7 separate regions of the Homo sapiens genome follow, and all the other regions are linked to region 1. The links are contacts of gene promoters, found by promoter capture Hi-C in blood cells and fetal thymus (Javierre and others, 2016). All regions are on one chromosome and are shown on one strand. Each heading gives the region's core, a stretch centred on a gene start or on the middle of the fragment in contact. The rest is flanking DNA. Distances are from core to core; before and after follow the strand shown.

Region 1 (3,614 bases), core at 302-2,801:
AAAGGAAGAAAAGTCATTGCCTTAGTGGATTCTTCTCACATTAGGCAAAAATCTTTCATTGGGAAGTTAACTCTGTCCTATTCATTCTTCAGATTTGTCAAGATAATGATCAAGTCCATACTTGATCCTTCTGCAAAATGTCACTATTCCTATGACCATTTTGATACTTAATTTGGCATAATTAATCTATGCTGTTCCTCATTTTCAATTAATCTATGCTGTTTCTCATTTTCAGTATTCTGATATATCTCATGTATCAGAATATGGGCTCTCAGTCTTATTCAACTATTATTTTTAACTAAATGTTATAGTTAGCAACTGGTTCACAAACCATTATTCCCTTAATTTGTGAATCATGACTTAAATTTCTCACAATTTTTACTTGCCCACATAAGGCAAATGCTGTACTCTCTCTCTCTCTCTCTCTCTCTCTCACACACACACACACACACACACACACACACACACAGTTTTTCCATATTCCTAAGGAAAATGGTGGAGTGGTCAATGTGAAATTTCAATTCTGTTGGACTCATCCCAAATCTATCAACCCTCTATGTGATTTATTTACACACACAAACCCCAAAATAATCATCACTGCCTATACTTTCACTAGTTGACACCAACGAAAAGACAAGGTGTTAATCATGACACTTTCCTTAAGTGTTAAACACAAGCAAACCAGAATAGCAAGTTTCAAATATTTAGAATTCTTTCCAAGCTAAGCAAAACATTCTTTAGCAGTGACCACACCACCCGCCAAGTTCTAAAACTAGCTGTTTCAACTTGGAAAATTATATCTACCTTAAAAGTTCTTATATGTAATTAAAAGTTCTTATTAAAATAATAAGCAGAAAAAAAACCTGTCACCTAAAAGTTCATTTTGATATATCTTATACCCTCTTACACTAGGGAGGAAGGGAGAACTTCGACTTAAAAAATGCAATGTCCACCTAGATGACGTCAATACATATACACGTTTGAACTGCTTTTCACATCAGCGTTAAGAAATTTGGGGGCAACACAAAGATCTGGGCATTTGTCACAGGATCCAACTACAACTAGACCCGGTCGTTGTCAATCTATGATCTTTGGCACCTCTGGATCTCTAGAATAAAACTTGGTCCCCAAGTTCTTGTGGGCCCACCCTCGGCAGTCAGCCCTACGGCGGGGCGGGAGCGGCCCCACCCTAGCTCCAGGCGATACTCACAAACTTGGGGCGCTTCTCCCCAGGCTCCTCGGGGCCACTGGGCGGCGGAGGGTGTTGGGGGCCCTTCCTGCGCGGCATCTTGCTTTCCCGGCAGCCGCGGAGAGAGGCTGAGGAAGGGTAGGGAGTCCCAGCGGCTGAGCCTTGGGCCGGGTGGTGCAGCCGCGGCTGGTGCCGTTCCATCTTTCCCCGCAGCTCCGGGGACCGGAAAGAAGGTGGCCACTCAGCAAGCCGCAAGCTGGAAGCTGAGGGATCGACAACAGGTTTTACTCCCGGGGTCCGCCACCCAAACAGTCAGCACAGCCTAGCCCAACCGCTGAAGTCGGGGCCGCAGCCAACACATCTGAAAACTCCCGCCACCCGTGTTGGCCCGGGACTGGCCAATCCCGCGCCGCCGGATCAATGACACGCTGAGGCACCGCCCCTTCCGGGCACTGCGAAACATGATTGGCCTTGCGGCCTGTCTATGCAGCCGCTCAACCCTTCCGGCGGTCCAGGCCGCTCACCTTAAGGACGCAGAGTGGCGTCAGATTTGGAGAAGCGCCGGGGACCGTGGAGGAAGTCATCGGCCTGGATTTCTTTGGATTTGCAGATAGGGTTCCAGCAGAACTGGAAGGTGGGCGAGACAGGCCCTGCGCCACCATTTGAGCAGCGCTGGGATATAAAACCATCTGCTAGCCCTCTCCTTGCACGTCTGGGGCTGGAAAAAGTAGTTCTGGGACTGGGTACGGTGCTGGAAGGGGTACTAGGCAGGATGAAACGACGGGGCCCACGACGCTCCAAAAGGAAGCCTTCTGGACATATTTCCTGCCTAAGTGCTCGCTCTGGGGTGGCAGAGGGGTCCACCCAAAATCAGACAGAGCTAGGCTAGGCTGAGCCCTTCAGGAGCTCACAGTCTCCTGTAGTTTCCAAACCCTAACACAATTAACCAAGGAATGTAAATGTCTATAGCAGTTGTTTTAGAAGTTCCTTGAGAACAAAAAGGGAAGTTATTAAATCTGAAGGAGTGGATCTGGAAAGGTAAAAGGAAAGCTGCATAGGTTTTCACTAGGCAGGAAACAGTGGCAGGGCATTCATTTAAAAGGCATTCCATTCCAGGCAGGAGCAAGGCCAAGAAAGCATAGAGGTGAAGAAACTTTAAGGTCACATAACAAAGGGCCTTGAACTGAAACCATGCAAAAGAGTTTGTTGTGTAAACCCAAGGTCAAGCTACAAGGCAAACACCGTTTTCTCAACACATCAATATACCCTCTTTAAAAATGAGCTTTTCCTTGGAACTATTCCTTTAAGATATCTGTCTTCTGATTATATGGAGGTGGTGTAGGCCAAGACTCGGAAACATGCAGTATTGATTTTGGTACAAGAAACAACTCTAGGTACTCTGAGGAGTTTGGCACAGAGGTTCAAAAAATGAGCCTTAGTTCTCAGTAAGTCTTCACACTACAGCTTTTCTTTTTTAATATTTGTTTTACTGTGCCAGACTCTACAGCTCTGTCCTCAAAGAGCACATAATCTTTAGGGAAACTTACAGGAGAACAGCAAGGTCAGGAGAACTACAAGTAGTTCCTTATATCTTGATGACAGACCCAGATACAGATTTTATTCCTGCCATTTACTAGCTATTTGATACCGGAGATGACGTTTAACTTTCTTTGCTGCTTCATCTACAAAAGGGGGGTAATTATACTAATACCTATGAAAGAGGGGCATTTTCAGGCCTAAATAACATAGCATATGTAAAGCCCTTAGAGTTTTGTCAATGCTCCTACAGGAATACTGTAGTTGAAGAAGTTGGGATTATTACTCAGGGAGGGAGAACATGCACTATGGGGAGCCATGAAGTGTCTTAGGTAAATGGTATTAGAAAGCACTTAAAGGATTTGGGCTTTGATTAGGTGATTTGGGAAAGACTCCGTGGAAAGAGGTGGGAAGGGTTGCTCAAGATTAAGTGCCTTCAGGAAGTGGAGACAGTTCAGTGATTATCTTATCTAGGAGGATGGCAGGCTAAAAGACAAGCCTAAAGCTGTAACTGACAAGCATTAGTCATCCATATCATGGAGAGAGGGGAATGTTTGATTTTGAAAGACAAAACAAATTAAAGATCTAATTGGCTTTTATTTGCAATTCCAGAATAGGCAAAACTTCATTCTCTAAAATAGAATCTGTTCCAATGAGCTAAGCAGAGGAGGTTGGCTTTATAGGCAGAAAAAAGCTAGAGAACAGAAATAAGGAATGAGAAGCAGATGAGTTGTTTCAAAGTTACTTTCCTTATAGGGTTAAAACAGGGGAACTTTCTTAGCATACCAGCTCAGATAAACTTGGCCCCTTCTGATTGGGTGCTATGAATTTCCTGCTTTTTGGAAAACTGGCTGGTTTCAGAGTTGCTTTTGATTATGTGGCAATACGC
Region 2 (3,614 bases), core at 610-3,109, 470 kb before region 1:
CATTTCAACCTCACAAGTAAGTCCAAACATAAATGAATAATGAATCCATAAATGTTTATTGAGCACCTATATGCATAAGACACAGAGCTAGGAACCACCAAGAAGTTTAAGGTACTGTCATTGGTCTGAAAGGGACCAGGGACAAAAGAGGAGCTTATGTTGACTCATTTTTAGTGTCACTCAAGTGTCAAATGAATTGTGCACATAATAAATACAATAGAATTTTGGTGGAGTGAGGTCCACCTAGAGATAGTTTAAGTGAAATCATGCTTCATAAGGGCAGGGTCTCATTTCAGTTTTGAGTAACAATAGGATTAGATACATCAGAAACAACTTGCAGGGAACTTTACGTAAAGGAAAAATCTATTAAAAATGCTACCAAGTACCCATTTAGTGGATGGTTAGGATTCAAGACAGGCCACACTCATGCAGATGAATATATGAAGACAATGAAAAAAACTCACATAACATGGGTTAACTAATACTAACATTTTAGTATCAAATTATGTTGGAAATTTCACATAGAAGATGTTTATGTAATAGAGTTTCACCAAAAAGCAATCAACTACGTAGACTGGGTTTCATCTTTATTATGTACTAGTCAATCCCCAGGCACAGAAAGAAAGCAATGATTGAGGGAGAGATAATTGTGAATCTCTTGTTATAGAAAGTTAAAGATTGCAAGAATTTAGCACCTTCTTTCTTCTGCTGCAAGAAAGTCTCCTGAAAGGCCACAAGATTTCTGAGGAAGCTTAAATACAGGGGAGAAAGTAAAGAAGGCCTGGACTACCTGGGGAGAGAGGCATTCTAATCAGTCAGAGAGAAGAATTTGAGCCTCAAGTATTCTGTTAGGAGTACGGCGGCCTCCTGCTGTCCACACCCTGTCTCCTTCTTCACCCACACAAGAGGAAGGAAGGAATGAGCTGGGAAAATGGGAAGTGCAGGTGGTATGATAAAACCGATGAAGGATTGAAAATGGATTGCACTAAAATAAAAAACAAACAGAGTCGTCATCAGCAAACAGATGGCTCCTAATAGAGAATAAAATTTGATTAGACAGTTTCCCAAGTATATATCTGGTGCACCAGAATCAAGGAGAAATTTTTAGGCAAATCATGAAGGAAAACTTTCTTCTTCATGGAAGAAAGCAAAATTCTGAGTAAGAAACGAGAAGACTGCTATTCTGCAGGTTTGGATGGAGATATTATTTGACAGAAGTTGGTTTCCACGCTGATTTTGATGGCAGACGGTGGGGAACAAATTGGTTTTAGGGTGGAAAGATTTGGCAGATGTTGGGGGACAAGTTGGTTTTAGGGCGGACAGATTTGGCAGATTAAGAAAAAAAACTGTATTAAGCAGTGTGTGTGTGTGTGTGTGTATGTATGTTATGCAAGTGATGCTTTAAGTAAGCTGATCACAGAAAACTGAAGAAATTCAGACCATATAATTATGACCCTTCCAGGACATTTTTTTATGCTATGAAAGTTGCTACTCTATCCAAATAATGTTAAACACAGACATCCAGATTAAAAGAACTGGAAGGTCATCTAATTTGCACAATGTCACTTTACCCAAGAGGAAACCAAGGCCCAGAGATATTAACTCATGTGTTTTCGACTTGCTCATGGTGAAGAAAGGATAACATGATGGTTACCTAGCTTCCAGGTGATGGGGTTGGGCAACTGAAGTTGAAACATCAACTCTGCTCCTTTATTTTTCACTCCATTAAAAGTCCAAAATTCAGTCTAATTTCATTTGTCTGTGAGCACTTTATGCCATGATACACTGCATTTTTATAGGGCTTTATGTGTTTCAATGCATTCTTATATACATTACTTTACCTTTTCTTCAGCATGAGCAGGCAAGAATTACCAAGTTGGCTGGACAGATGCAGAAATTCAGGCATAGTAAAGTTAAACAATTTATAAAGCAAATTAGTGAAAGAGCTTGGCCTATGTTCAGCCATCCTGCTCTTGTCACTAGATCATATTACATTTGCTGGTTGGTATAATTTGCCCTAGACTGCATTTTCTATACAGAAGAGGAATTGTATTTACTTAATGTAATGAAAACATTGCACATTTGTAACAGTGTTGTTTTCTGCTATTTTTCATTACAACTGCATAGTGTTACAGCTACATTATGGGTTAAATAGACTCTTGAGGGCTAGCCTGGGAACCTAACCACCATTTATAACATTCTTTCTATGGGAAATTGCTTTGTGAATTCCAAAACAACTGATTTAAAAATTAACTTTGGGAATACACTGGTTTCAAAGTAGAAGATTGTTGGTCAGACATTTCATGTGATTGGTTGCTTAATTCATGCAATTGAAGCAAACAATAATGGATTGCCTACTATGCATCTACCAGCCATTGTGCTGAGGCCAGGGATGCAAGGATGAACAAGATCTTAGGCCTTGAGGCACTCATATCTATCAGAGAGAAACAAATTATTAAAACAAATAAATTATAAATAAGTGCTAAAATAGAGCTATGGGAAAAAATACTGCAGAAGCAAAGAGGACAGAGGAACTAGACCTCCAGGGGATTTACTATGAAAGTAACATTTGTGTTGGGTCTTGACATGTAAGTAGGAGTCTGTCAAATAAAGAAGAATAGTAGGGCATTGCGGGTAGAAAAAGAAGCAAATACAAAATGCTGGGAGGTAAAAGGGTCTGGTGTTTAGGGAGAATGATGGCAGCAACACACAGGAAGGCAGGATGGCTGTTAATTATCAGTTGCTTTTTAGTCATTAAAAATTTAAGTAATTTCTTATCTTATCTTTTTGGATTTTCCAAAGGAAAGGGGATGACTAGATTGAGAAAATTACACAGACCCTTGCCCTGCATGAGAGAGAAGAATTTCTGCTTACTCATATCATTAGTCTTGTTTTTTATCCCCATGGGTCATACTGTCAACCTTGAGCAATGTTTTGCTGAACTATGAGATCAGATCAAAGATTATAAAAGCTTACTTACTGATATCTAGGTGTTTAGGAAATATGGTAAAAGACCAGTAGTTAAAATAAAACCTGGCACATTTGAACCATTTCCATATGCTTGCTTCTGTTAAATTAATATGCTTTATATCAGCAAAATTATAATCTTTTTGACCACAAGAAAAGGTCTCACTGTGAACATATGATGATTAAGGAATATTCAGAATAAAACTCAACCTGAAATTTCAGTCTGTATATAGATCAATTTTAGTTAAAGCATGTAGAACGAATAAAATAAGCAAAAGACAGGAAGCAAAGCTAGAGAAAGGGAAAGAAGTAAACAAGGAGGAAAGAATGTTTTAGCTCAAGTGCATTTAAAATGTGTGAGAAACTTTTTTATATTCAAGTACATAATCCATTTGCAGAGGGCTGACTGAGGGTGTTTGTGACTATGTAAACTGTATTTCTTTCATGTATAACATAAACAAAAGGATACAGTCCACTGATCCTTTGTAAACATTAGTTAAAAATAATCCTGACTCTTCAGTGTGAAGCTTATGCAATGTTCATGTTAGGACTCAAATACTTCATTCAGCCTAAGACAAGTCAAAAAGGATTTTAAAAAGCTAAGTATAGAATTTAGAATGTAGAATACCCCATGTATAGTTCACAGT
Region 3 (3,614 bases), core at 320-2,819, 450 kb before region 1:
TTACTCATCTTTTTCTAACATACCAATTTCTCCCCACTTCATTTCATTATTCTCTCCAGCAAACAAACATACTATTTCTCTCATCTTTAAAAAAAAAAAAACAAAAAACCCTTCCCTTGATCCTAATTCCTCTTCAAACTACTAATTCATTTCTTTCCTTCCTTTCATTTTATTATTTTTTTAGAGACAGCATCTGGCTCTGTCACCCAAGCTGGTGTGCAGCAGCATCACCATAGCTCACTGTAGTCTTGAACTCAGGGGCTCAAGCGATCCTCCTGCCTCAGCCTCCCAAGTAGCTGAGACAACAGGTGAGAGCCACCATGCCAGGCTAATTAAAAAAAAAACGTTTTAGAGATGGAGTCTCACTATATTGCCCAGGCTAGTCTTGAACCTCCAGCCTCATCCTCTCTTTCCTTTTATAGCAAACTCCCTTGAAAGAGTTACCTACAATCGCAGTTTCTAATTTCTCTTACTCTCTCTTGAACTCATTCCAATCAGATATTTGTCCCTACCACTGCACTAAAATTCCCCTTCTTCTTGAAGTCACAGTAGCCTCCACATTACCAAATCCAATGGTCGTTTTACAACTCTGACCTTACTTGATTTCTCAGCAGACGGGACACAGTTGTCACTCTCTGCTACCTGAAATTCTTTCTTCCTTTGGCTTCCAGGACTTCACCCTTGCTTGGTTTTCCATCTCAGTGTTTTGTGTTTCCGCCCTTCCTCCTGAGCCCCAAATGTCCGTATGTTCCAGGGCTGTCCTTGAATACATTAACTCTCATATCTACACTTAATTTCAAAGCAATCTACTCCAGTCATATTGTTTAAATACCATTTACCTACTGGCAATCCCCCAATTTATATTTTCACAGCTCTGACCTGTCTCTGGAATGCATTTTCTGAATGCTTTAAATAAGACATATTGCTTTTATAATAATAATAAATATATTTTAAAAACATGCTATTTATTCTGGATTTTAAAAAGACCTTATAGACTAAAAATCCTTTACCAAAAGACCTTTATTCCCATGTATAATTTTTTAAAAAGTTACCAGGTATCAGGACTATAAAGATGAATAAAGAAACTTAAAAATCACCTGTCCTCTCAACACGTAGAGATAACTACTTTCAGACACATATAAACTCTTTAAAATCTGTAAAAAATGCAGATCTATGCCCATTTGGAACAAAATCATACCTGAGAAAAAGTTTTTAAATGAATACATAATCTTTTGTATTCTTTCAGATGAATAACTTTTATTTCTGGGTGAGCCTGTAATTTTATAGAATCATTAGTTTAACATGATTTACTTTTATTAAGTTGGTCTTTTTTCAAAACAACAGATTGGCTACAGCTAAGATAGAAAAGGGCTAAAAAGTAAAAGACACTACCATCAGAGCGAACAGGCAACCTACAAAATGGGAGAAAATTTTCGCAACCTACTCATCTGACAAAGGGCTAATATCCAGAATCTACAATGAACTCAAACAAATTTACAAGAAAAAAACAAACAACCCCATCAAAAAGGTGGCGAAGGACATGAACAGACACTTCTCAAAAGAAGACATTTATGCAGCCAAAAAACACATGAAAAAATGCTCACCATCACTGGCCATCAGAGAAATGCAAATCAAAATCACAATGAGATACCATCTCACACCAGTTAGAATGGCAATCATTAAAAAGTCAGCAAACAACAGGTGCTGGAGAGGATGTGGAGAAATAGGAACACTTTTACACTGTTAGTGGGACTGTAAACTAGTTCAACCGTTGTGGAAGGCAGTGTGGCGATTCCTCAGGGATCTAGAACTAGAAATACCATTTGACCCAGCCATCCCATTACTGGGTATATACCCAAAGGACTATAAATCATGCTGCTATAAAGACACATGCACGTGTATGTTTACTGTGGCATTATTCACAATAGCAAAGACTTGGAACCAACCCAAATGTCCAACAATGATAGACTGGATTAAGAAAATGTGGCACATATACACCATGGAATACTATGCAGCCATAAAAAATGATGAGTTCATGTCCTTTGTAGGGACATGGATGAAATTGGAAATCATCATTCTCAGTAAACTATCGCAAGAACAAAAAACGAAACACTGCATATTCTCACTCATAGGTGGGAATTGAACAATGAGAACACATGGACACAGGAAGGGGAACATCACACTCTGGGGACTGTTGTGGGGTGGGGGTAAGGGGGAGGGATAGCATTGGGAGATATACCTAATGCTAGATGACGAGTTAGTGGGTGCAGCGCACCAGCATGGCACATGTATACATATGTAACTAACCTGCACATTGTGCACATGTACCCTAAAACTTAAAGTATAATAATAATAAATAACAAAAAATAAAAATTTATTTTGGAAAAAAAAAAAAGAAAAGTGCTAAAAAGTAATACCATGGTATATCTGCAAAGATCTTAAAAAAAAACCCCAACAACTTCATTTTGATTATTTCAAATGTACTCTCTACATTTAAAGTTAGTTAAAAAATGGCACAACAAATTATAAAGCTGAAAAAGACATGCCATTTAAAATATGGGAGTAGATTAGGGATATTTTAATAAAATGGTGACTCATCTCTCTTATTGTTAAACAATCAAGGGAGAAGGAATAATAAAGAACTTGCTCAATTAACAATCTGGTTAAAAATGGCTCTGGCAACAGACTGGGTTGCCAGTTGTGTGAGCCTGGGAAAATCTGAGTCTTCATTTATTTGTAAACAGAAGATAATGCTGTGCTGGCTCTCATCTTAACATTGTTGTGATTAAGTGAGATAATATACGTAAATATCCTAGCAGAGTATCAGGCCTTTTCAACAAATGTTGGCTATTACTGCCTTTGTATTAATTTCTTAAACTGTTTTACTACCTCCTTTTTCAGAACAGGTTTATTCACAAAAGCTATTCAAATAAACAAGTTAAAAAAAATTCACAGAGCTCTGAGTTCAGCTTGAAAGTTTTTAAGCAACACAATTTATTATACAGAACAAAACAATACTTTGAGATGAGTTTCTTCTGTCAAAAAGACAAAAACACTCAGAGGATGTAACTGAATGACTATAATGCACCCTGGCCAAGAAGCGAGGCTTTACCTTGCTCTTTAAAGTACATGCAAGTGAGCACTGTTCTTGTCATTTTAATATAGACTTTCCACCCTTAAATTGACTTTATGAAATAGTTAGATAATTGTTGTGTACTTTTAAGTCACTTTGCCAGTGTTCTTGAACCGTGAAAGTAATTAAGTACTGAACTCATAAAATACACTCCCCAAGGTCCAAGTTTAAGTGAGCATAGTGATTTGTTTCCTAACAATGGAGCCCAACCACATTTAAAAACTCCTTTGTACTGGACAGTCCTTGAAGCTTGGAGTGGCTTTCTTATCCACAGCCCTTCTGAGCATCCTGCAGCTAACAGCAGGTTTTTTTTTCCCTATAATCTACTACCACCATCCCCACAACTGTCATGATCAAGAACTATTTATCTCCATTTCTACCACACCATTCTCACTGACTCAATGACTTCTTTTGTTATTACCACAATGATGCTATTGCTCTTGCTACCATCACCATTACCACACCACCACCACCTCTCTTA
Region 4 (3,614 bases), core at 732-3,231, 430 kb before region 1:
TACCCAGTAATGGGATTGCTGGATTGAATGGTATTTCTGTTTTTAGGTCTTTGAGGAATCACCACACTGTCTTCTATATAGCTGAGCTAATTTACACTTCCACCAGCTGTGTAAGTGTTCCTTTTTCTCCACAACCTCACCAGGATCTGTTATTTTTTTGGCTTTTTAATAATAGCTATTCTGACTGGCGTGAGGTAGTACCTCACTGTCGTTTTGAGACTTACATGTTCGTTGGCTGCATGTATGTCTTCTTTTGAGAAGTGTCATTAAAATGGCCATATTACCCAAAGCAAAAAATAGATTCAATGCTATTCCCATTACTACCATTGACATTCTTCACAGAACTAGAAACAAAAATTTAAAATTCATGTGGAACTCAAAAAGAGCCCAAATAGTCAAGGCAATCCTAAGCAAAAAAGAACAAAGCTTGGAAGCATCACGCTAGCCAACTTCAAACTATACAACAGGGCCACAGTAACCAAAACTGCATAGTACTGGTACAAAACAGAGACACGGACTGAAGCAACAGGATAGAGAAATAAGACTGCACACCTACAACTATCTGATCTTTGATAAACCTGACAAAAACAAGCAACGGGAAAAGAATTCCCTATTCAATAAATGGTGATGGGATAAGTAGCTAGCCATATGCAGAAAATTGAAACTGGACCCCTTCCTTAAACTATATATAAAAATTAACACGAGATGGACTAAGGAGTTAAATGTAAAAACGAAAACCATAAAAACCCTGGAAGACAACCTAGGCAATACCATTCAGGACATAAGCACAGGCAAAGATTTCATGACGAAGGTGCCAAAAGCAACTGCAACAAAAACAATTGACAAATGGAATCTAATTAAACTAAAGAGCTTCTGCACAGCCAAAGAAACTATCAACAGAGTAAACAGACAACCTACAAAATGGGAGAAAACATTTGCAAACTATGCATTTGAAAAAGGTCTAATATCCAGCATCTATAAGGAAATTAAATTTACAAAAGAAAAAATAAACAACGCCATTAAAAAGTGGGCAAAGGATATGAACAGTTCTGCCTAATTTTAATGCCTATATTCTTTGCATACTCATTATCATTTATTCACCATTTATTGAGAATCTACTATGTATTCTATGTTAAGCTAAGCATCAGACATAGAAATATGAACAAAACTTAGGCATTGGGACTATTGTTAAACAAAATCAGCATAAAACCAGGGAAGTTTTATGTCAGCCTCAGAGTATAAAAAAGATAGTATCATAGTGAGTAAGGCAGCAATAATTTTACTAGCTCCAAACCCCAACATACGTGGACTTATAAAGCTTGATGTAAATCTTGATTTAGGTAAAGAGCTGTAAGGCCTGGAGTAACTTACTCTCTTAACCTCACCTTTTGCTCATCTGTAAAAGTGGATTTACCTCAAAAAGGTTATTCTGAATTCCAAATGAATTAACCTATACAACAAAACACTGGCCATTATAGTAGTTGCTCATTCTACGCAAACTCTTATCTTCAAATACATTCTAAGTTTAGTTGCCATCCTCAGAAATATACAAGGCCTATCTTCTTCATTTAAAATATAAAATTAGGCCGGGCACAGTGGCTCATGGCTATAATCCCAGCACTTTGGGAGGCCGAGGTGGGTGCATCAGTTGAAGTCAGGAGTTCGAGACCAGCCTGGCCAAGATGATGAAAATCTGTCTTTACTAAAAATACAAAAATTAGCCTGGCATGGTGGTGGGCACCTGTAATCCTAGCTACTTGAGAGGCTGAGGCAGGAGAATTGCGTGAACCTGGTGAAGGGAGGCTGCAGTGAGCTGAGATCACGCCACTGCACTCCAGCCTGGGCGACAGAGAGAGAATCCATCTCAAAAAATAAAAAACAAAATAAATTAAAATAAACAATTACCTGATATCTAGAATTCTTTGACCAGAACTGGTGCCCATGACAACAACGGCCTGGGGTCATCTTAGTAGAGATCCTGCTCAAGAAGGTGGCCTGCCAAAGCAAGGGGACCACAGAGGCAAGAGGGTGGGGGTGAATGGGGAATGAGTGGGATCAGGAGTGGCTGGCTGTAGGAGTAGAAAAAGCTCAGCAGAGGAGCCTCCAGGGAAACAGCGAGCTCTGTGGACTGGCCAGACCCAAGGCATGCCAACTTGCTAAAGCAGTACCTAAATTGCTTAAGAACTGTCTTACTCCTTTAGCTTTCTTCTCCCTCCTTGTACTGGAGAAGGGAGGGGCTGTTATGACAGGCAGGCCCCCACCAAGACGGATTTACCCTACTGTCAAATACTAAGACTACTAAAAAGAGGATATGCACAAGGGAATATATTCCTCAACTGATGAAAACCTATAATCCCACTAATCCATGAAGGTATCTTTAAGTGGCACCACTTTAAAAATCTACTCCTTCACATAACAGCTTGCAACACCCATAAGGGAATTCTTTAGATCAAGTCACTTCTGCATCTGTTCCAGTAACAGTTACAGACTGACTTGAAATGTATCTTTTCAAATTTTGAAAAGTCAGTTTGACCACTGTACATATTTACCTATATGCCTCCTTGTATACTGAGATATTTTCCCTAACACATCATCTGTCCATAAAAACTTGACTATGTTTACAACCAATGGCTTTCTCACTTTTGGAAGCTTTGCTTCCTTTTTTTCCCCCTTTTTGAATTTTTCTTTTTACAGAATAGAAGCAATACAATTATATGTATTAAGAACATTTCAGGGCTGACATTTAAACGCTCTCCTTACTGGCCTCCCATCTCTCCTGATCATGTTTCTTAAGAACTATCCCTCGTGCTTAGGTCCAAAGTATCAAAATTAACAACTGTTAGTAGAGGGATTAGTAAAGGGATTTGAAGGTTTGAATTTGCGTTTTGTTAAGAATGTGATCCTTTAGAATAATGTGCTGTATAAAATAAACTGACTACGTTTCATCTACTGAATTGCAGTTCGAATCTTGAATGTATTTGGCATCCTAATACTGAACTGTTGGAGGCTGCATGGTATAATACAAAAACCACATCAAATACAAGAGTCAGAAATTTTTTACTCCATATGTAACACTGTGAGCTGATGCCTTAACTCCTCTAAGTATTCATTTGTTAATTGGGAATACTAATACCAACATGTGCCCTCACAATACCCTTTTGAGTATTAATGATTACAGCACCGGTGCTAGTAGCATCAGAAGTACAATGGTCACTGTGGTATTCAGGTCTACTTCAGTATTACTCTGGAACAGGCATTTTGTGAACTGCTTTTACATATAGAACTTATTTAGTAACCACAGACATCTACTAAATATGTTTATTTTATTGATTTTAAATAGAGAAAACTGAGACATAGAGAGATTAAACATAAAGTAAATATCAAAACTGAGATTTGAATCCAAATCTGCTTATCCCAATGTACATCCTCTTTATCACAGCGCTACAGAGACTCCTGCAAAGCACTACTCAAACATAATGGAGGACCCTGAAAAATACACAAGAGTATAAAGTCAACCCTCTGAATCCACAAATTCAACTAACTGTGATTCAAATATATTCAGAAAAAAAAGTTCTAGAAAGTTCCAACAAACAAAACTTGGATTTGCTGTGCAC
Region 5 (3,614 bases), core at 679-3,178, 370 kb before region 1:
AGTCTGCAGGGCACAGGTGGAGGACATGGGAATGTCTGCTTTCTCCTTGATCAAAGCTGCTATGTCAGGCTGTCACTTTTTTTTCCTCATGTAAAAAGCACCCGCCTTTGAGACACATGTCATTCAGTTACACTGCTGCCATCCCTCTGGGTCACTGTCATCTAATCACGCACAAGTCTACCCTCTCATTCAGAATAAACTGTCAATTGAGTCAGTCTTCCTCATCAGGCCAGGCTCTGCCATCATCTTGTGAGAATTCAGTTTAATGTTAATATCTAATCCAACACCAGGTCCTAAGAGTTCCTTGACCTCCTCCTCTCCAGGGAGCAATCCCTTCTACTTCCCATCACCGACTTCCTTGGCCATAATCGAAATCTTGTCACTACCCAGAGCTGTTTTACTTCCAATAACTTGAATTCATACAACCATTTTCTGACCCATGTCCTTTTCCTCTCTCTCTTTTCCTGTCATCTACCCATGAAAATCTCCAATGCCCTGGCACCACTGTTTTCATATCCTTGACTATCTAGTTTAGACTCTGTGGTGCATCACTTTGACCATGGTTCACACGCTGGTATCTTACTTCCCTCCTTCATTCTCCTACTTTTTCAGACTCCCACTAAAATGTAAATAAGCCCCAAACTCCATCTTCTTGGCATTACTCCAGATGCTGAGTAGTGCCGGTAAGAAACAATACCACAGGATCTGAACTAGTACATATGTGCAACTGCTACCTCAATTGGATTCTTAATGCTATTCAGCACTCCTCTGTGTTTCATCAGGAGGCTCTCCCACTCCCTGAGAGGGTTTACATGCTTACACACTTCACTCAAGCCTCCCAACCAACCATGGCCCTTCCTCTGCAAAGGCCTTCCTTTTAGATAGAAAACAGGAACCACTTGATGAAAGCTTCCTTAACTTCCCACCATCAAACCTACAAATGTATCTGCACTTAGGCCCAACATTTCCTCCTTTCAATCTATCACAATGGCAGAGCATGTGGATTTCCAAGACAATTTCCTCTACCTGTGCTAGTATCTTGTTGTTCTCCACCCCTCCTGCCGCCCTCAGAAGTTTACTCCATTGATTGTCATTCTCTTCCAATTGCCCTCCTTTCTCATTCCTCCCAGTCTGCATTTAAACAAATTAAAACACCTGCTTTGTCCTCCCCTTTGACTTCTAAATCCCCTGTAGTTACTACCCTTTCTTACTCATATCTCAGTCTCATCTCCCATATTCATTCATTAACTCTTTACGCTATTCTTTGAGCTAAAGTCAATGGGATGGCTGTTAGTTCATTACATGATTCTTTAGCAGTATTTGATTGTGTTGACTACCCATTCCTTTTTGAAATGGTCTCTTCCTTGGGCTTCATGATACCAGACTTTCTTGGTCTTCCTACTACTTTCATGTGACTCCCTTGTCAAGGTCCTCTTCTGGGATCTTCTTACTCTGCTCATTCTTACACCATTCCTTGAATTTTCCATTGGTGTTTTATTCATTCCATGGCTTCATTTACTGAAAACTCCCAAGTTTTTATCACCAGCAACAAGCGCTATTCCTGAGTTCCAACTAGGGTGACCAACCATCCTGACTTGCAAGACTAAGGGGTTTCCTGGAACACAGGACTTTCAGTGATAAAACTGGGAGAATTAGGCAATCTGGGATGTGTTGGTCATACTAGCCCCTTCCTACTCACTAGACATGGTAACCTGGATGTCCTAGAGATACCTCAAATATAATACAGACTGTTCCCAACTTACAATTTTTTGACTTTACAATCAAGCAAAGCAATACACATTCAACAGAAACTGTACTTGACTACCCATACAACCATTGTCTGTATTCAATAAATTACATGAGATATTCAATACTTGATTACAAAATAGGTTCTGTGTTATATGATTTTGCCCAGCTGTAGGCTACTATAAGTGTTCTGGAATGTTTTAGGTAGGCTAGGCTAAGCTATGATGTTTGGTAGGTTTAGGTATATTAAATGCAGCTTTGACTTAAAATATTTCCAAATTATGATGGGTTTATCTGGACATAACCCCATCAAAAGTTGAGGTGCATCTGTATATACAAACTTGAATTACCATTTTCCCCAAACCTCTACCTCTTATTGTGTCCCTTATCTCAGTGAATGGCACCACCTACTCATGTCAAAACACTATGAGTCCTTTTTAACAACTGTTGAAGGTAAATATAATAGAAGGATTTCTGTATCCCTAAGCACTGAGTTTCCAGTTACATTTCCTATTAGGGGAATATTCAATAGGATTCTTATATAGCCTGTCAGCAATTTCAAATCTTCTTTAGTGAAAAAAAAAAAATTAAAAAATGTATCATTCATTTGAAAAGTTACAGATCTGTTGGATAGTGCCAGTGGTGCAAGATTTTTTTCTTCAATGCCACATCCTTCTACTGTCCAAGTTCTGATGCGAATTTTGATCACTATCTAATCCACTATAAATATCATTTATTTATTTATTTTTATCGAGGCAGGGTCTCATTGTGTGGCCCAGACTGGTCTCAAACTCCTGGCCTCAAGAGATCCTCCCACCTCAGCCTCCCAAAGTGCTGGGATTACAGGAACCAGCTACCATGCCCAGCCTAGTATAAATATTCTTCTTTAAACATTTTGGAATATTTCTAACATGCTGTTTAGGAATGATTAATTTTCCTTCCCAATAAGCTGAAAGAAAGACATGTTCCTCAAGCAATGAAACTCTGGAAAACAATTTGTATTAACTTGTGAATGCCTCAGTCTGCAAGACATAGTACATGCTTTGTAGGTCATTAGGAAACAAAATGGTTGTCTTTCATAGTTCATTCTGTAAATGGCCTGTGGGCCGCAGTTAGCTCCACACATCTCCTCACTCTGTGTGGGCTCCATCAAATATTGCCTTTAAATTTGCCTGGACAACTGCACAAAGGAGAATGAACGAAAGCTTCAGATTAAGAATGTACGAGAAGCACAAGACGCAAGACTCTTCAGGCCAAAGGAAGTAAGACAAAAAAGTGACTTCATGGTGCTCTGGGTTATTATATTTATATTTCTTCATCTTCATTCAGCATGAGACAGTAGATAGGCTGATAATATAATGAAAAATTAAGACTAAATTTCAGGAAGAACTATCTGAAAAGAAATCATTATTACTATAGGGCCTGGCCACCAAGGAAAATGGCATCCTTTCCCTTCTCTTGAATTTAAGGAGATGCTTCTGTCCCAGGGAATTTAGGTATATCATTCTCTCTCTCTTTTTTTTTTTTTTTTTGAGATGGAGTCTCGCTCTCCCGCCCAGGCTGGAGTGCAGTGGCGTGATCTCAGCTCACTGCGAGCTCCGCCTCCGGGTTCACACCATTCTCCTGCCTCAGCCTCCTGAGTAGCTGGGACTACAGGTGGCCGCCACCATTCCAGGCTATTTTTTTTTATTTTTAATAGACACAGGGTTTCACTGTGCGTGCTAAGATGGTCTCGATCTCCTGACCTCGTGATCCACCTGCCTCAGCCTCCCAAAGTGCTGGGATTACAGGCGTGAAACACTGCGCCTGGCCAGGTATGTCATTCTTGAACTGGGTGGCTTGCTATGGTTTCACAACTTAAAGTTTGT
Region 6 (3,614 bases), core at 300-2,799, 350 kb before region 1:
TTTATATACCACACGTAAGTGAGATCATATTATGGTATTTGTCTCTCAGTGAATGGCTTATTTCACTTAATATAATGTCTTCTGGTTTCATCTATGTTGTTGCAAATGACAGAATTTCCATTTTTTCATTTAAGTCTGAATAGTATTCCATTGTGTATATGAACCACATTTTAAAAATCCATTCATTCATTGTTGGAATCAACATTTTTGAACAGTATGAGTTGGAGATCCAATTCACTTTTGCCCATCCTTTCTCCAATAATATGCAAAGTCACTTCTTTTGGATTTCAATTAGCACATGTGTGTTGCTTCATTTTATGGCTGTTTTAGTCCATTTGATCAATATAACCATGTCTCTAAGAATAATACTCTATTTTAATTATTAAGGCTTACATCTTATTTTTCTTACTTAGGAATGCCTTCTGTATCCTTGGGCCTTTGCTCTTCCATCTGTATTTTAGAATAGACTTGTTAAGTTTCATTGAAAAGGACTATAAGCATTTTTAATTGATATCTTCACAATTTTGAGTCTTCTGTGAACAGCATGTGGCTTTTTATTAACTTGGATCTTTAAAAAAAGCTTTAGAAAAAAACTCATTTTCTCCATTCAGGTCTTGGACATTTTTGTTAGATTTACTCTCTATACATTTCTTTTGCTATTGTAAATGGTGCCTTCTTCAAAAACAATGATTTCTATTGTTTTGTAACATATAAAAATGTAATTTTTACTTTTTGTAGAGATGGGGGTCTTGATAATATTGTCTAAGCTGGTCTTGAAATCCTGGGTTCAAGTGATCCTCTCACCGTAGCCTCCCAATGCGCTGGGATTACAGGGATGAGCCACCACACCCAGCCTAAAAAATGTAATTTTTATATATGCTACTGATAATTTTTCTTATTATTTCTGATAGTTTTCCTATAGGATTTGTTTTTGCTATTCATAGAGTGCTATAATGTCAGCTTGATTTTCTCCCTTTTCAATCTTTACATTTTCAACTCCTACTTGTCTTATCTTGCTATACTGACTAGGAGTTAGATTCTAAGTATTAGGTTAAAGGGTTTCCTTTGACTCCTTTCCTACTTTGGAGTAGGGTGGAGGGTTAAATTAGTTCATGGTTCTTGTTTTGAAATCTGAATAGGATTTTCTGACTTGACTGAGAGAAATTTCACAATTTTTTTTCCCATTAGACTCAATATAGTGAATTATATTTATGAATATTCTAATATTAAGCCATACTTTCACTTCTAGGATAAACTCAATTTGGACAGGAAGAATTTATCTTTTTGAACATTTAGTCATAAAATACATTTTTGTATTCCATTTGTTTGAGATAATCATTTCATTAAAATTTGGTAAAATGTATCTGAAAAACTTCTAGGCCAAGTATTTATTTCAAAGATTAAAAGTCATTAAAATCAAAATTAGTTATAGAACTATTCATGCTTTCTATTTCTTTTAAAGTAATTTCAGTAAGTTATTTTTGTCTAGGAACTTATCCATTTCATTTACCTTTTCCAATACTATCCTACAAATTTTTACAGAAAGCTCCTCTCTTTTTACTATTTTCTGTATCTTTAGTTATGTTCCTTTTTATATCCTCAATATTATTTATCTTCTCTTTTTCTTGATTAATCTTTTTAGCAATATATCTAATTAACTTGTCTTTTCAGAATAACCTCATTTTTGCCTTTTATGTCACTTTTTCTTTCATTTAATCTTTCATATCCCTCCTTCTGGTTTCTCTAGGATCATATAAATCCTTTTTAAATTTCTGAAGTCAGATGTTTTTAAGTCTTTCTGATAAAAGTTATTTTATTGATACATAATACATGTACATATTTTGGGGGTACATATGATAATCTGATACTTTTATATAATGTGTAAAGATCAAATCACGGTAATTGGAATATCCATAACCTTAAATATTTATCTTTTATATATGTAGGAACATTTGACTTATTCTCTTAAGCACATATGGTATAAATTTATACCATTTTTACTGCATCCAGCAAAGTCTAATGTGGGGTATTTTCAATATTGTTCAGGTATAACTGTTTTCTATGATTTCATCTTTGACATATGACTTTTTAAATGTGTTTTTAGAATTTTCAAACTAGAGGTTTTAAAATTTCATCCTTTTAATTTTATTTCTAATTTCATGTCATTGTGGTCAATAAATAAATAAAACTGGCACTGAAAAATGTATTGAGATTTCATGGTCTCTAGTATGTAACCAATTTTATAAAAGTTCAACTTGTGCATGAAAAAATGTGTATTCTTTAATTATCGAGTTTGAATTCTATATACACTAATCAAATCAAGTCTGTTAATTGTTTAACGCTTGTCTTTAATGATATTTTTCTGCTTATCAGTAAGTTAAAGAACTTTGTTGACATTTCCTAACATAATCCTAAATCTGTCAACTTATCGATATAGTTTATTAATTTTTACAATGTCATTTTGGGGCTATGTTATTAGGCACATACCATTTTTAAATTGTTGTATCTTTCACGTGAATTAAGCTTTTTGTTGTCATGAAGTAATTAATGTCTTGAGTCAATTGTACCTATTAACATAGTTTCCCTTTCTTCTGATTAATAGTTGCCTTGTATTTCATTAACTGTCCTGTTACTTCAAACATTTCTATATCCATAGGGTAAAGGGAGGTCTCTTATAAACAGCATAAAACCAGATTTTATTTTTTATACGATATTACAGTCCTTTAAAAAATTTATTGTGATTTATAAAATGTTTGTTTCCATCTATTTGTCTAGCTTTAGTTATGCCTTTATTTTTCCTGATTTTTTTTGGTGTATCCTTCTTAGTCTATTTCTCTCACTACAGTTTAGAATTTATACTTGATATTTCTATCCTTTCACTGGTTATCCTTGTATTTTTATTACACAAATAAATTTTTAGCAACTTAACAAGACCTAAAGTTAATTAATATCTGTATCTCCCTTTCTCCCTTGACTAAAATAAAGAAAACCCAAATTCTAAATCTCTCTCACTCAATTTATAAATTTATGTAACATTGTTTTATTGTGTACTTTCTTTACATTTGTTTTCATAGTACCTATGGCTTCCTGTCTCTCAATCTGTTTTTTGTTGCTTCTTTAAATACAACCTTTAGAGCAGAGGCTATCGAACTATAATCCTTAGATTGACCACGTATTTTGTAAACAAAGTTTTACTGGTACATAGCCACAGCCGTTTATTTACATATTGGATATGGCTGCTTTTGCACTGTTACACGAGAGTTGCCACAGAGACTGTATTGCCTGCAAACCTGAAATATTTACTATCTGGCTATTTAAGAAAAAGTTTTCCAGTCTCTGAAAAAAAATCTTTTAACATAAGGATGTTGATGAAAAACACTTTTGTTTCCTGTTTATCTACAAATAGTAGATAATTCCACCTGTGCTCTATAAAGATCTTTTGCTGGATACCCCAAATTAGAAGAACATTTATGTTTGTGCATCACTTAAAGATCTCACTCTCTTCAGCCTTCCATTTTTGCAATAAGTAATCTGTATCTAATTGTTGTTGCTTTGGGGGTCATATCTTTTCTCTCTGGCTGCAATTTTTTTTTTGGCTTTAGTGTTCTGCAGCT
Region 7 (3,614 bases), core at 361-2,860, 280 kb before region 1:
GCAGGCAGAAGCGGTGCAAACCCACAAATCTATCACATGCCAAGTTAACCCTGTCTGGGACTCTAGGTTTCTCTACTGGGAATGTGGGGGACTGGAGGTGTCTAAAAGAACAAAGGGGCAAGTTCCTGCCTTTATCCTTACTCCTGTGTTATATCAACACACATGCAGGAAATAATCACTTAGCTGTAGGCTGAAGACATACCACATATGAAGCTAGATATGAATTCCTTGACCAAACACACTAGGGATTTGGGACTTAAAACGCACTGAAGGGGCGGTAATAGTAAAATTGTTGAACTTCAACAACTATTGTAAATATCAAAAGCAGGTTAAGGCAAGGTCAGAAAAAAAGCAGTGACAGATTAAAATAGGGACTGTTTCTCCCTTAGTCACAGACTGTAAAGGAAAGGCTAAAAAACAATGCTATATGAAGCCTGTAGGATGCCAAATATAATGAAAATCATGATTGTTTGGGATACAGAAAGCTATCAGCTCATAATATAATAATGACCGTTACTTAAAATATACTAGACAAAGGCTTATAAGACTCCAATATATTATAGACACTGCCTTAATGACTAAACATAACTCAGCTTACTCATCTGACAAAAATTGAGCAATAAAGAATTAGTTCTTTGTACACAACTCTGAGAGAATATTTTCATATAGACCAAAGCCCTATAGTGAATGAAAAGTTCCATTTTCAAATAATATAAATATCTAATTTATACTTAGCTTTCTCCCCAGACCCTTGCCAAATTAAATGGTTATTCATATACAATCAAGATTCTAAGGGCTCAATTAATGTAGTTATTAATAAGAAGTCTACTTTACAAGGCACTTTAAGGAACGTCTTCATATTCCACTGTCTAGGAAAAACAAAGAATGTAAGTTCAACAAGGACCAAAAAAAAAAAAAAAAAAAGAAGAAGAAGAAATATCATTAAGTTTATAGAGTAAGTTTAAGCGATATGAAATTATAAAGAGACAAAGATGTACTATTATAATGTTGATTCTTATTGGGCATGAATTGTTCTTTTTAAGCAGTGATCACTTATCACAAAGACATTTGTCTTAAAATATATTATATTTTAAGACAGATGGGTTCACTTACCTGGATTTTTTTTATCCTTAACCATTGCAAAAGGAAGATGTTCATATGACACTGGTAACATGAATAATGCTCTATTACACTTAATATGTCCTTTAGAGCAGTCAGACATACAAAAGAGCACTCACATGTAGTACCTGTAGTTATGGCCATTCTGAAGGTGTATAATGGGCTCATAGCATCGCTGTTTTCAGTAAGTGCCATTATTCATGATTATGAAGCCAGGTACTTGCAATACATATGAGAAGAAATTCTCCAGTATTCTATGCAAAACATTTGTATTACGAAATATATTAATTCTAACATATATTAATGTACTACTACATTCATGCACAGAAGAAAAAAGAGACTGCTTAAATGCCTACATTATACCACCCCAAAATATGTTAAAGCTTTCCTGCTGACAAGCTAACCATATGTAGCCAGCATAGAGTAATTAATTCTCCTAGAAAAATATAACCTAGATTTGTATGAATAATGAGTGTATCTGGCACTAGGGACAGGTACCTTGAAAAGATAGAGTAAGTCTATGATGTAATGCAGAACAAAGTGCTACAAGTTCATGAAAATCCCTGACAAGGCAAAGTCAGGAAATGTAACCTAAAAACAAAGCTTTGAACAACACTTAAAAAAAAAATTAGATGTCCTTTTCCTATTGTTCTTTCTTCCAAGTTTAGATAAATCAGTATTTGACTATTATTGAGTAAATGTGTTTTAATAAATAAAATTATTGAGTGGGAAAAGAACTTGAAAGGTCACCTGGAGAAGGTGCCTGTCTTTAGTTCACTATTTAGTCATATGATGACCCCTAGGCCAAATGGTTGCCCTTTTTATTTAACAACAAAATATCATTTAAGGTTAATGTTCCAAGATCTAAATCATGGAATCTATGATAATAACAGAAGGGTTACTTTTCTTTTTTTGAGGCAGAGTCTCACTCTGTCACCCAGGCTGGAGTGCAGTGGCACAATCTCAGCTCACTGCAACCTCTACCTCCTGGGTTCAAGCAATTCTCCTGCCTCGGCCTCTTGAGTGGCTGGGATTACAGCCATGAGCCACCACGCCCGGCTAATTTTTTGTATTTTTAGTAGAGACAGTGTTTCACCATGTTGTTCAGGCTGGTCTCTAACTTCTGACCTCAAGTGATCCACCCACTTGGGCTTCCCAAAGTGCTGGGATTACAAGCATGAGCCACTGCGCCCAGCCCTTTTCCTCATTATTTGAATCAAACTTTATTTCTTCAGGTGGAATCAAATAAAAAGGGTTAAGAAGGGGGAAAATATATGTATATGTAAAAAGCCCGACCAATGTTTCCGCATCCTCACCACTTCTCATATTCTATCAACACTGGGGATTTGCATTCTGTTTTCCTGCTAAGAAAACTAAACTTCTGACTTGTCTAAGACTAAGTGGAAGGCAGAAATGAACTATGGTGCTCAAATAATACTCTGAATGGCAACAGAAAGTCATTTTTAAAAATGAGAAAAAGGAAAGGGTAAATGAACAATAAACATAAAATGTAAGCTAGTTAATAATTAGAATGCTAGAAGAAATTAGAATTTCATTTTTACAGTTATCCTTTAAATCTATTGTTACAAAGTCTTGGCAATATAAATTCACGAAACCCAAATCTGACAATAATGAGATGTAATCTGAAGATCAATCCAAAAAAGGAAAAATACATTGATTTCACTCCTGTTTTTCCTGAAGGCAGGGAGCAGTACTCCTGTAACCCCCCCACACACAGATGTCATATGTCAGAATGAAGAGATGTTAAAAGCAGTGACTGGTAAAAATCAAGAAGCAATATCCAGAACCCTAAGGGTAATTTTATTTCAAAATTTTGTTTGTTGGCAATATATGTTGTTAGAGAGGGAACAACGTAAAAAGACCTTTAGAAAAATCAATGAACTAACAAGTATTGACTGGGCCCCATTCAGTGCTGTGAGGGGCACAGGAGCCATAGCAGCTGCCCCTGTAGCCCTTATCGTTGAATTCTTTCTGCCTGTCTTAAGGAGTATAAAGTCAGAAAGGTCCCCAGGAAGATGTAATCTCTCAAAATCTCATTATGGTTCTATTTTTCACATATAATTTTATCCATTATTCTATAAGGAAAAAAATCATTTTTTACATCAACTTTGTTTAACACCATATCTACTTCTCTTTATACATTTTCTTTTATAAATACAGGTTGTCAGATGTTTTTTTCCCCCGTCCTACTATGCAGACTTAACATGGCACACCTCAGAAGGATTTATTTTTTATTCTTTTTTATTCTTCCCTGAAGTTATTATGAAACTTCACTGTTCACTTAACTCTCTAACAGTATAGTAACCTGCTGACTGGGAAGTTACTGGCCTCGGTCTTAATTTATAATACTCTAAAAGCATTAGTTCATCTACTTTGTAGATATCACATTATAAGAAATAACAGAAAAGCATTTCAGGAAGGTGAAATGACTCTTTCAAGTCACCTGGCTAGTAGGACCCAGGCCTAGAGCTAAC

What was found. Contacts are between HindIII fragments. The CHiCAGO score rates a contact against its expected background, and 5 or more counts as called.
Region 2: a fragment that was not itself captured here is called in contact with the fragment with the promoter of DIAPH3 in region 1 in 1 of 17 cell types (erythroblasts); the score reaches 5.4 in erythroblasts.
Region 3: a contact is called between a fragment that was not itself captured here and the fragment with the promoter of DIAPH3 in region 1, in 1 of 17 cell types (M2 macrophages). The highest score is 5.0, in M2 macrophages.
Region 4: a fragment that was not itself captured here is called in contact with the fragment with the promoter of DIAPH3 in region 1 in 1 of 17 cell types (M0 macrophages); the score reaches 6.0 in M0 macrophages.
Region 5: a fragment that was not itself captured here is called in contact with the fragment with the promoter of DIAPH3 in region 1 in 1 of 17 cell types (M0 macrophages); the score reaches 5.4 in M0 macrophages.
Region 6: a fragment that was not itself captured here is called in contact with the fragment with the promoter of DIAPH3 in region 1 in 1 of 17 cell types (M1 macrophages); the score reaches 5.3 in M1 macrophages.
Region 7: a contact is called between a fragment that was not itself captured here and the fragment with the promoter of DIAPH3 in region 1, in 2 of 17 cell types (M0 macrophages and erythroblasts). The highest score is 6.3, in M0 macrophages.

Annotation. Positions count from the first base shown.
Region 1 is chr13:60,162,377-60,165,990 of GRCh38, forward strand. DIAPH3 (diaphanous related formin 3) reads right to left here and starts at 1,552. Exons shown (of 28, transcript NM_001042517.2): 1 at 1,211-1,552. The coding sequence starts at 1,390. LOC105370227 (a long non-coding RNA gene) reads left to right here and starts at 1,681. Exons shown (of 2, transcript XR_942001.2): 1 at 1,681-1,823. RefSeq lists enhancers at 1,941-1,990, 3,079-3,373. The HindIII fragment of the contact is 7,568 bases long and covers 1-3,614 here.
Region 2 is chr13:59,688,433-59,692,046 of GRCh38, forward strand. The region is part of intron 27 of DIAPH3 (diaphanous related formin 3); the gene reads right to left. Among named protein-coding and RNA genes, the nearest start is that of DIAPH3-AS1, 320 kb to the right of the region's middle. The HindIII fragment of the contact is 2,220 bases long and covers 750-2,969 here.
Region 3 is chr13:59,707,898-59,711,511 of GRCh38, forward strand. The region is part of intron 27 of DIAPH3 (diaphanous related formin 3); the gene reads right to left. Among named protein-coding and RNA genes, the nearest start is that of DIAPH3-AS1, 300 kb to the right of the region's middle. The HindIII fragment of the contact is 3,621 bases long and covers 1-3,380 here.
Region 4 is chr13:59,736,301-59,739,914 of GRCh38, forward strand. All of the region lies in intron 27 of DIAPH3 (diaphanous related formin 3), which reads right to left. Among named protein-coding and RNA genes, the nearest start is that of DIAPH3-AS1, 270 kb to the right of the region's middle. The HindIII fragment of the contact is 1,331 bases long and covers 1,317-2,647 here.
Region 5 is chr13:59,792,195-59,795,808 of GRCh38, forward strand. All of the region lies in intron 25 of DIAPH3 (diaphanous related formin 3), which reads right to left. Among named protein-coding and RNA genes, the nearest start is that of DIAPH3-AS1, 220 kb to the right of the region's middle. RefSeq lists an enhancer at 702-1,567. The HindIII fragment of the contact is 2,042 bases long and covers 908-2,949 here.
Region 6 is chr13:59,814,901-59,818,514 of GRCh38, forward strand. The region is part of intron 24 of DIAPH3 (diaphanous related formin 3); the gene reads right to left. Among named protein-coding and RNA genes, the nearest start is that of DIAPH3-AS1, 200 kb to the right of the region's middle. The HindIII fragment of the contact is 1,943 bases long and covers 579-2,521 here.
Region 7 is chr13:59,880,074-59,883,687 of GRCh38, forward strand. The region is part of intron 20 of DIAPH3 (diaphanous related formin 3); the gene reads right to left. Among named protein-coding and RNA genes, the nearest start is that of DIAPH3-AS1, 130 kb to the right of the region's middle. The HindIII fragment of the contact is 220 bases long and covers 1,501-1,720 here.